Linked DNA regions of Homo sapiens: region 2 is linked to region 1. Evidence: promoter capture Hi-C in 16 types of primary human blood cells and fetal thymus (Javierre and others, 2016). All regions are on one chromosome and are shown on one strand. The core of a region is centred on a gene start or on the middle of the fragment in contact, and the rest is flanking DNA. Distances in the headings are between cores, read along the strand shown.

Region 1 (3,456 bases), core at 513-3,012:
GAATGAAGACGCCCAACCCGATAGGTATGAGAGTGCTGCAGAGAGTCAGGGTCACGGTCCCTAGGGGTAGTAACTGCACGATAGGGGTGTTGATCCAAGCCCAGCTGTAGATCCACAGGCACAGGGGCATCAAGACGAGGGCCAGAAGCGTGGAGGAGATGGTCATGATGATGCTGCAGAAAAGGGAATGTGCAGAAATCAGAACGAGCTTTGAGTCAAACAGCCAGCTAACCTTTTTCTTGTATGTTGAGTAGAGGTGGAACGGGGAGACTGCAAGTCCCGGGGTTGAAGTCTGGGCAGAACCTACATCCGAGGAGAGTGCCAAGAGAGCAGCACGTCTAACACCGATGGAATTATGAACCCAAGGCAGGGAGGAAAAACAAGCCCCCTGTCTCGGTACTGCTGCCCTCGACATTATAAAGTCTATTGAGCCTGGATGATTCTGAGGGGAAGGAACGTTCTTCCTTGCAAGCCCCCTGCAAGGTAAGCCATGGTAAAGCTGCTGACTGCTACTTGTTGGTCGGACTCAACAATCCTGCACTCTATGTGAGATTACTTTCTCTGACGGGCCAGTAGCCCTATTTTACTTTTACGTTGCCGGCGAGTTCTAGTTCAGACTCCCCCTTCTCTTTGTCTTCCACTGGACAACGACCTGCGCTGCCACCCCGACGCTCGGGGAGGACGGCGAGGGACCCTGCTGAAGGGCCGCGCTGCGCATGGAATCCCAGCCTTGGAGCAGCTCCCTCGCCGTCTAGCTTGCTCCCCTAGCAGCACAACCTGCAGGTCGGCCTTGACTTCTAAAGCCGGGGCGTCATCAACTTCCTCTCCTTTTCTCCTCCTTCCTCCACGCCTAATTCCAACCCCTCCACTGCCTCTGTCCTTCGTCGTGAGCCCACGGCCGTAAACGCGCGTCTGGGATGAGACAGATGCCCAAGGAATAGACAGATCCGTACCTGAGGTTCATGTCGCCGTCAACCAGCAGGGACATAAGATTGGAGAGATTGCCGCCGGGACAGCAGCCACACAGGAGCACCGCCACGGCGGCCACCTCGTCCAGCTTGAAGGCGAGGGCCAGCAGGAAGGCCAGCAGCGGCAGGAGGCCGAACTGGCAGAGCGCTGCCAGCAGCGCGCCCACGGGCCGACGGACGTGCGCCCCGAAGTGGTTCACGTCCACCGTGCAGCCCAGGCCCAGCATGGTGATGCACAGGGCGGCGCCCACGAACACGTTCAGCCCGTGGTTCAGCGGCGTGTCCCAGAACGGGAGCGCGTGGGGCGCCCAGGGCCGAGGGAACGGGGAAGGGCCGTGGCTCGCCGCGCCGCCCGCGAGGCCGCTGGTCGTGGGCTCCGGGGTCGGAGTGGGGCCGGGGCTGAAGCCGAAGCTCGGACCCGGCCCGAGGCTGAGCCCAGGGCCGGGGCCGGCGCTGGAGGCAGGGGCGAGGGCGAGGTCCGTGCCGGGGCCCAGGCTGCTGGCATTGGGCGCCAGGGTGTAGTTGTCCCGCAGCAGAGGGGCGAAGAGCAGGGTCACGTTGTCGTTGCCGTCCATGGCGCGGCCGGAGCTGCGGATTCCGGTCCCCTCCCGCCGCGTGCCTCTCGCCGTCCCGCGGTCGCCGCAGTCGCCGCCCGTCGTTCTGCCCGTCGGTCTCCGAGCCCCGGCTGCGCGCCGCTGACGTGCTCGGCGGCGTCGGGGGCGGCGGGCCGGTCTCCGCTCCCAGGTCTGCAGCCGCCCGCAGCCTGGCACTCCGCGCAGCGCGGCCCCCCGGGTGAACCCAATCGCTGCGCCGGCTCCGCGCCGCGGCCCCGCGCCCCGCAGGCCCCGCCCCGCCCTGCCGCCCGGTCCCCTCCTGTGAATCGCCAGTAAGTGGTTCTGTTATCGAGTGTAGCCAGGGGCGGAACAAAGACCTGACAAAGGACCAGAGCAGGAAAAAACCGTTCCTGGCTGCCGATCAAGTTCTCTGATGGGCTCTGCCTCTTTATAATGAAATCTGGAGACCCAGACACACAAAGTGGAGGGGGCGGGTGGATAACCTCATCGATGCACGCTCATGGCAGAAACTGTTCCTATAGCCTGCAGCCCTAAGAGGGGTGCTTGACTTAATATGAGCGATTCTCTAGTAAGCAGGACACGATATCTGGCTTGAATTTGCAAACAATTTTTTGCATGATTTTCAGTCTTAAAGTAGAATGTAATAATAATATAGCGGGTTTTGTGCAAGTGCGTGTGCATTATTTCATTCGATTCTTACAGCAAAGCCGTGAGATAGATACCATTTTTACAAGCTCGATTTTTACAAACGAGGAAACTGAGGAACGAGGAATTCTCAGTCTTATCAACCGAACCCACAAGTACCTGGCTGAATCTGCACGGCGATGTGTCCCTAAAGAGGGCAGAGAAGAGCTTGGCTAATAACAATTTCCATGAAAAATGTGTGTTTAAGAAGTTATTGGCAGGTGGAGAGAGGATATTTCAGTGGCCACAGATTTACGAAGCTTTATGAGTAAGGCCCTGGCATTAGGATTAAAGGACTGAAAAGAAATAAAGTGCTGAGATTCCCTGCTTGAGACAGGTTTATCCCAAAACAATTCAAAAGCAGAGCTCTTAGGAATGGAGATGCAACAACTTTTAAGTCAGTCACTAGATGGCATGTAGAAAGGAAAATAATTTCGCTGCTTACCAACCAGGTGGGGCCTGTTAAGGAGGCATCTAGCTCCCTGGGGGTGACCATAAAGTGATAGTCAGTTGAGTTGTAAAAACCAACAGGAATTTCTAGAATGAAATCAAGGCTCAGTCTTAGCCCAGGGTTGCTTTCACAAGGAGCCAAGATATAGTGAATTCTTCTATCTGGGAACTTTTCCCTAACTCCTGTCCTGGCACAGAGTGACTTCTATTACCCAAGGGTGGGCTGAGCCTTTCCTCCTCCCCAAATCTCATGAAGATGATGGAGACTATGAAAAGTAAGACTTTGCAAATGCAAAGCATATTGCACTCTTCATCACAAATAATTTATTTTTTCTCTTTTGGACTGTAAATTCCACGAGGGCAGAGCTTTTGCAAGAATCTAGGAGGATAATGTACCCTTACACTTTTCCAAAACACTAAACCCAGAAAAAAAAACTTCAGTGAGCTAAACTTTAAAGGAAGTGGGTTGTGACCAAAAATATTTTAAGTTGACATGTCACCTTATGTAGGTAAAAAGAAAGATATTCAGATATACAATGATCCATGCTACCCAACCGTTACATTAGTAGACCCAGGGAAGATGTGTGGAGAAACAGACAAGATAAGGAGGGAAGGCACTGCTGAGCCTTCACAGTCTTGAAACCACAGAATGAGATAAGCCAAGAACACAAATGGCAAGGGATCCAGCTGAAGCCAACTGTGCAGGCACCACTCCTATTTGCCTCAGAAACCCTCATCATGTTAATGATATTAAAATTCACAATCACATTAAATAAGCA
Region 2 (3,456 bases), core at 287-2,786, 270 kb after region 1:
TAGGTGTTCTGATGAAAATATCTGCAGGAAACAAGACCAAAATTCACTGGATGAGATAATATATTTCTTGAAGTTCTAGAATCAGCTTATCAGCTGTATTCTGTTCCTTCTTAGTTGTAGGAAACTTTAGCTGTGGTCTAGGTCCATCTCTGAGTTTACAGAATTTCTGTGAAGTTAGGGAGTGAGAGACTAAGAGGATGGACTCTTGTGCCAGATTATCTGGGTTCAAATTCTAAATCTGTTACTTATTAATTGCATGACCTAGGACAAATTACTTAATCTCTCTGTGTCTCACCTTTAAACTGGGGAGAATAATAATACTTCCCTCATAGGAGTTTTTGAGGGGTAAATGGATCAGTATAGATAAAGTGGCTAGGATAGGTCCTGGTAGGTAAGTGCATGTAAGCAGCTGTTATTATTATATACATAAGGTAGGTTGCATTGTTGCCCATTGTGTCTTTACATGTTTCAGTCTTTGCTCTTGCCTCTGTTTTTTCCCAGATATCAATGCATTTGCAATGAGTGTAATTGTGTCATTGTGTTATTAGGTCACTAATCACAGGTGATTCACTCTTTAAATTGATCTGTGGTGCTGGTAGTCTGGTTATGTTTTGGAGTTCTGGTAACTGGTGGAAATGCATACCTCGGGTAGGTTCATGTGTTTGACATCTCTGAACCATGTTCATGGAACTCTGTTGGGGGTCGTCTGCTGTGGATGTTTTTCTCTGGATGTTTGCCAGTGGTACACATATCGATAGGGTGCCAGTTGTGGTAACTGTGGTGTTGCTTTCTCAGTTTTAGTTTTTCTTTCCTCCCTCTTCCTCCTCCTCCTCCTCATCATCCTCCTCCTCCTCCTCCTCCATTTTTTTTATAAAGAGGCAGTCTCATTCTGTCACTCAGACTGGAGTGCAGTGGTGTGGTCATAGCTCACTGCAGCCTCAAACTCCTGGGCTCAAGGGATCCTCCCACCTTGGCCTCCTAAGGACCAGGATGACAGGCACGTGCCACTATTCCTGCTAATTTTTTGTTTTTAGTTTTGTAGAGATGGAGTCTTGCTATGTTGCCTAGGCTGGTCTTAAACTTCTGGCCTCAAGGGATCCTCCTGCCTCAGCCTCCCAAAGTGCCAAGATTACAGGCATAAGCTACCGAGTCTGACCAACTTTACATTTTTATGACAACAGAGGTGGGTCTGCTATGGAGTTAAAGAAAAGTAAGCTTTAGGCTCTTTCAATTCCATAGCCCTTCCTAAGGCCTCTGGAAGGGCCCCAGAGCTTTTGCATTTATGATTTTGCATTTTAGTTTTATTTTTAATTTTTAATTGACAAAGATTTCTCCTCCAAAGTGTTTAAGCTTCAGATCCCTCAAAATCTGGATCTGCCTCTGTAGAGCACATAACATTTCATTTGTTCTAATATCTGACAATTTCTGCAAACTCTGACAGTGAAATACTCTCAAACATTTCCACTGTAAAACAGCTAATAAACAAGCATGTTTACAATTGGTTTATGTTCTCTAAGTTCTTCCTTTGAAAAACAAAGTGGTGTGTCTCTACTTTAATCTGTTAATTTTATTTCCCTGAATAGAGTTAAACAGTTGTTGTTTTTGAAGTCCTATACTTTTCTTGTTAAATGTATTCCTATTTTATAGTTTTAGCTACTCTTGTGAATAGGTTTTTTTCCCCATGATATGTTGTAATTATTGTTAATATATCATCAAGCTTGATTTTTTATAAATCTATTTTTTTTGAGACAAAGTCTCACTCTGTTACCCAGGCTGGAGTGTATTGGTGTGTTCACAACTCACTGCAGCCTCAAAATCCTGGGCTCAGGCCATCCTCCCACCTCAGCCTCCCGAATAGCTGGGATACAGGCGTTTGCTACCATGCCCAACTAATTATTTGTTATTTTTAATTTTTTTTTGTAGAGATGAGCTCTCTCTATGTTGCCAGGCTGGTCTCAAACTCCTGGGCTCAAGTAGTCCTCCCACCTCAGCCTCCCAAAGTGAGGTACTGTGCCTGCCTACAAATTTATTTTGTAACCAACCATTATACTCTGCTACGTCTGACTGTTACATAGAGACATAGTTTTCTATCATCAACTTCATTATGGAAGGGTTATTTTCTACTGAATTTAATCCAAATTACGAGAAGAAAAAAATTAAAAAAAATTAAAAGGTATTTTAAGTGCTAAACAAGAACATTCAAAAGCATGGGATTAAAACTTTCTGTGCTGAGAAAGTTATAAGCTGTGTGTTCTGGAGGGAGGCATTGATGGGGAGTGGTGGAGGAATATATCTACCCAGTAACCTTAAATTTTCTGAATTGACCGAAATACAAATTTAGAAATAGAGAAATCTAGATTTATAATTCATAGTGACTACCACGGTGGGATAATTGAATTCAAACCCAGCCTATCTAACTTGGAAGGCACCCACAGACATCTCTACTTGAATTTCTTAGCCACCACCCCCAATTCTTTTTTACTTGAATCTGTTCATTTGACAAAAATATTTTAAGCACCTACTTTGTGCCAAGTACTGTTGTAGGCTCTGTGGACACAATAGTATAGAAGGTAAATGCCCTGCTGTCCTGGAATTTACCTTCTAAAGGGGAGATGCAGACAACGTACAGATACCAGTAAATATCCCCCTGCCATGAGAAAAGTAAAGCCGCATGAGAGAGATGGGGCCTTGCCTGCTGTTTCTGTAGGTAGGGAATAGAGAACTTAGGAAGAGCAGGGCAGGCCACGGAGAAGCCAAGAGTACAAAGGACCCCAGGGAGGTGGGAAATGCTTTATTGCTCAAAGAACAGCAGAGAGGGAAAGGAACTGAGGTGGAATGGGGTGGGCATGGGAGGGGAGGAGGCCAGAGAGCTGGGCAAATTCATTTTTTTGTTTGTTTTGTTTTTGTTTTTTAAGTAACAGGCAGATTTTGGAGGGTTTTGAGATGGGAGAGACAAGATGTTGCTAATTCATGTATGTTGCCACGCCAGGGCACAGTGAAACATGAACTGGCAGTTAGAAGCTTGGAGTTAGTTCTGGCTCTGCTAGCCAGTGTGATCTTGGAGAGGTCAGTCCCTCAGTTTCCACCCTAAATTGAGGAAATTAGACTGTGATCACCAGAATCCCTTTCATGGCCAAATATTATGATTCTCAGATGGAGAAATTGTTATTAAGCATTCATATGTGCTGGCCACAGTTGTTGGCTAAGTGGGATAGAGGAGACCTGCCACTCCCACCCTCTGCTCAGACTTTGGCTCTTTGCCTCACCCCTGCCTCTGGGAAGCCAAGTTCTGAGCCTGCCTGGACCACAGATGGGTGTATCACTCTGTTCTCACTGGGGTCCTCATCGGTAGGTGTGGGCATGTTGACTTACTCTGTTTGCCTTGGTCTTCTTTCTTCCAAATGGTGTTGTTCTCTTTCATTCAATTTCCTCTTCTTTTCTTCTATTAGGATTTAT

The links. Contacts are between HindIII fragments. The CHiCAGO score rates a contact against its expected background, and 5 or more counts as called.
Region 2: a contact is called between a fragment that was not itself captured here and the fragment with the promoter of SLC10A4 in region 1, in 1 of 17 cell types (erythroblasts). The highest score is 5.6, in erythroblasts.

What each region holds. Positions count from the first base shown.
Region 1 is chr4:48,481,649-48,485,104 of GRCh38, reverse strand. It overlaps SLC10A4 (solute carrier family 10 member 4), which reads right to left and starts at 1,762. Exons shown (of 3, transcript NM_152679.4): 1 at 954-1,762; 2 at 1-173. The coding sequence starts at 1,543. RefSeq lists silencers at 1,583-1,712, 1,793-1,842 and a cis regulatory region at 3,097-3,456. The HindIII fragment of the contact is 5,112 bases long and covers 1-2,489 here.
Region 2 is chr4:48,207,902-48,211,357 of GRCh38, reverse strand. All of the region lies in intron 2 of TEC (tec protein tyrosine kinase), which reads left to right. Among named protein-coding and RNA genes, the nearest start is that of TEC, 60 kb to the left of the region's middle. RefSeq lists an enhancer at 598-737. The HindIII fragment of the contact is 367 bases long and covers 1,353-1,719 here.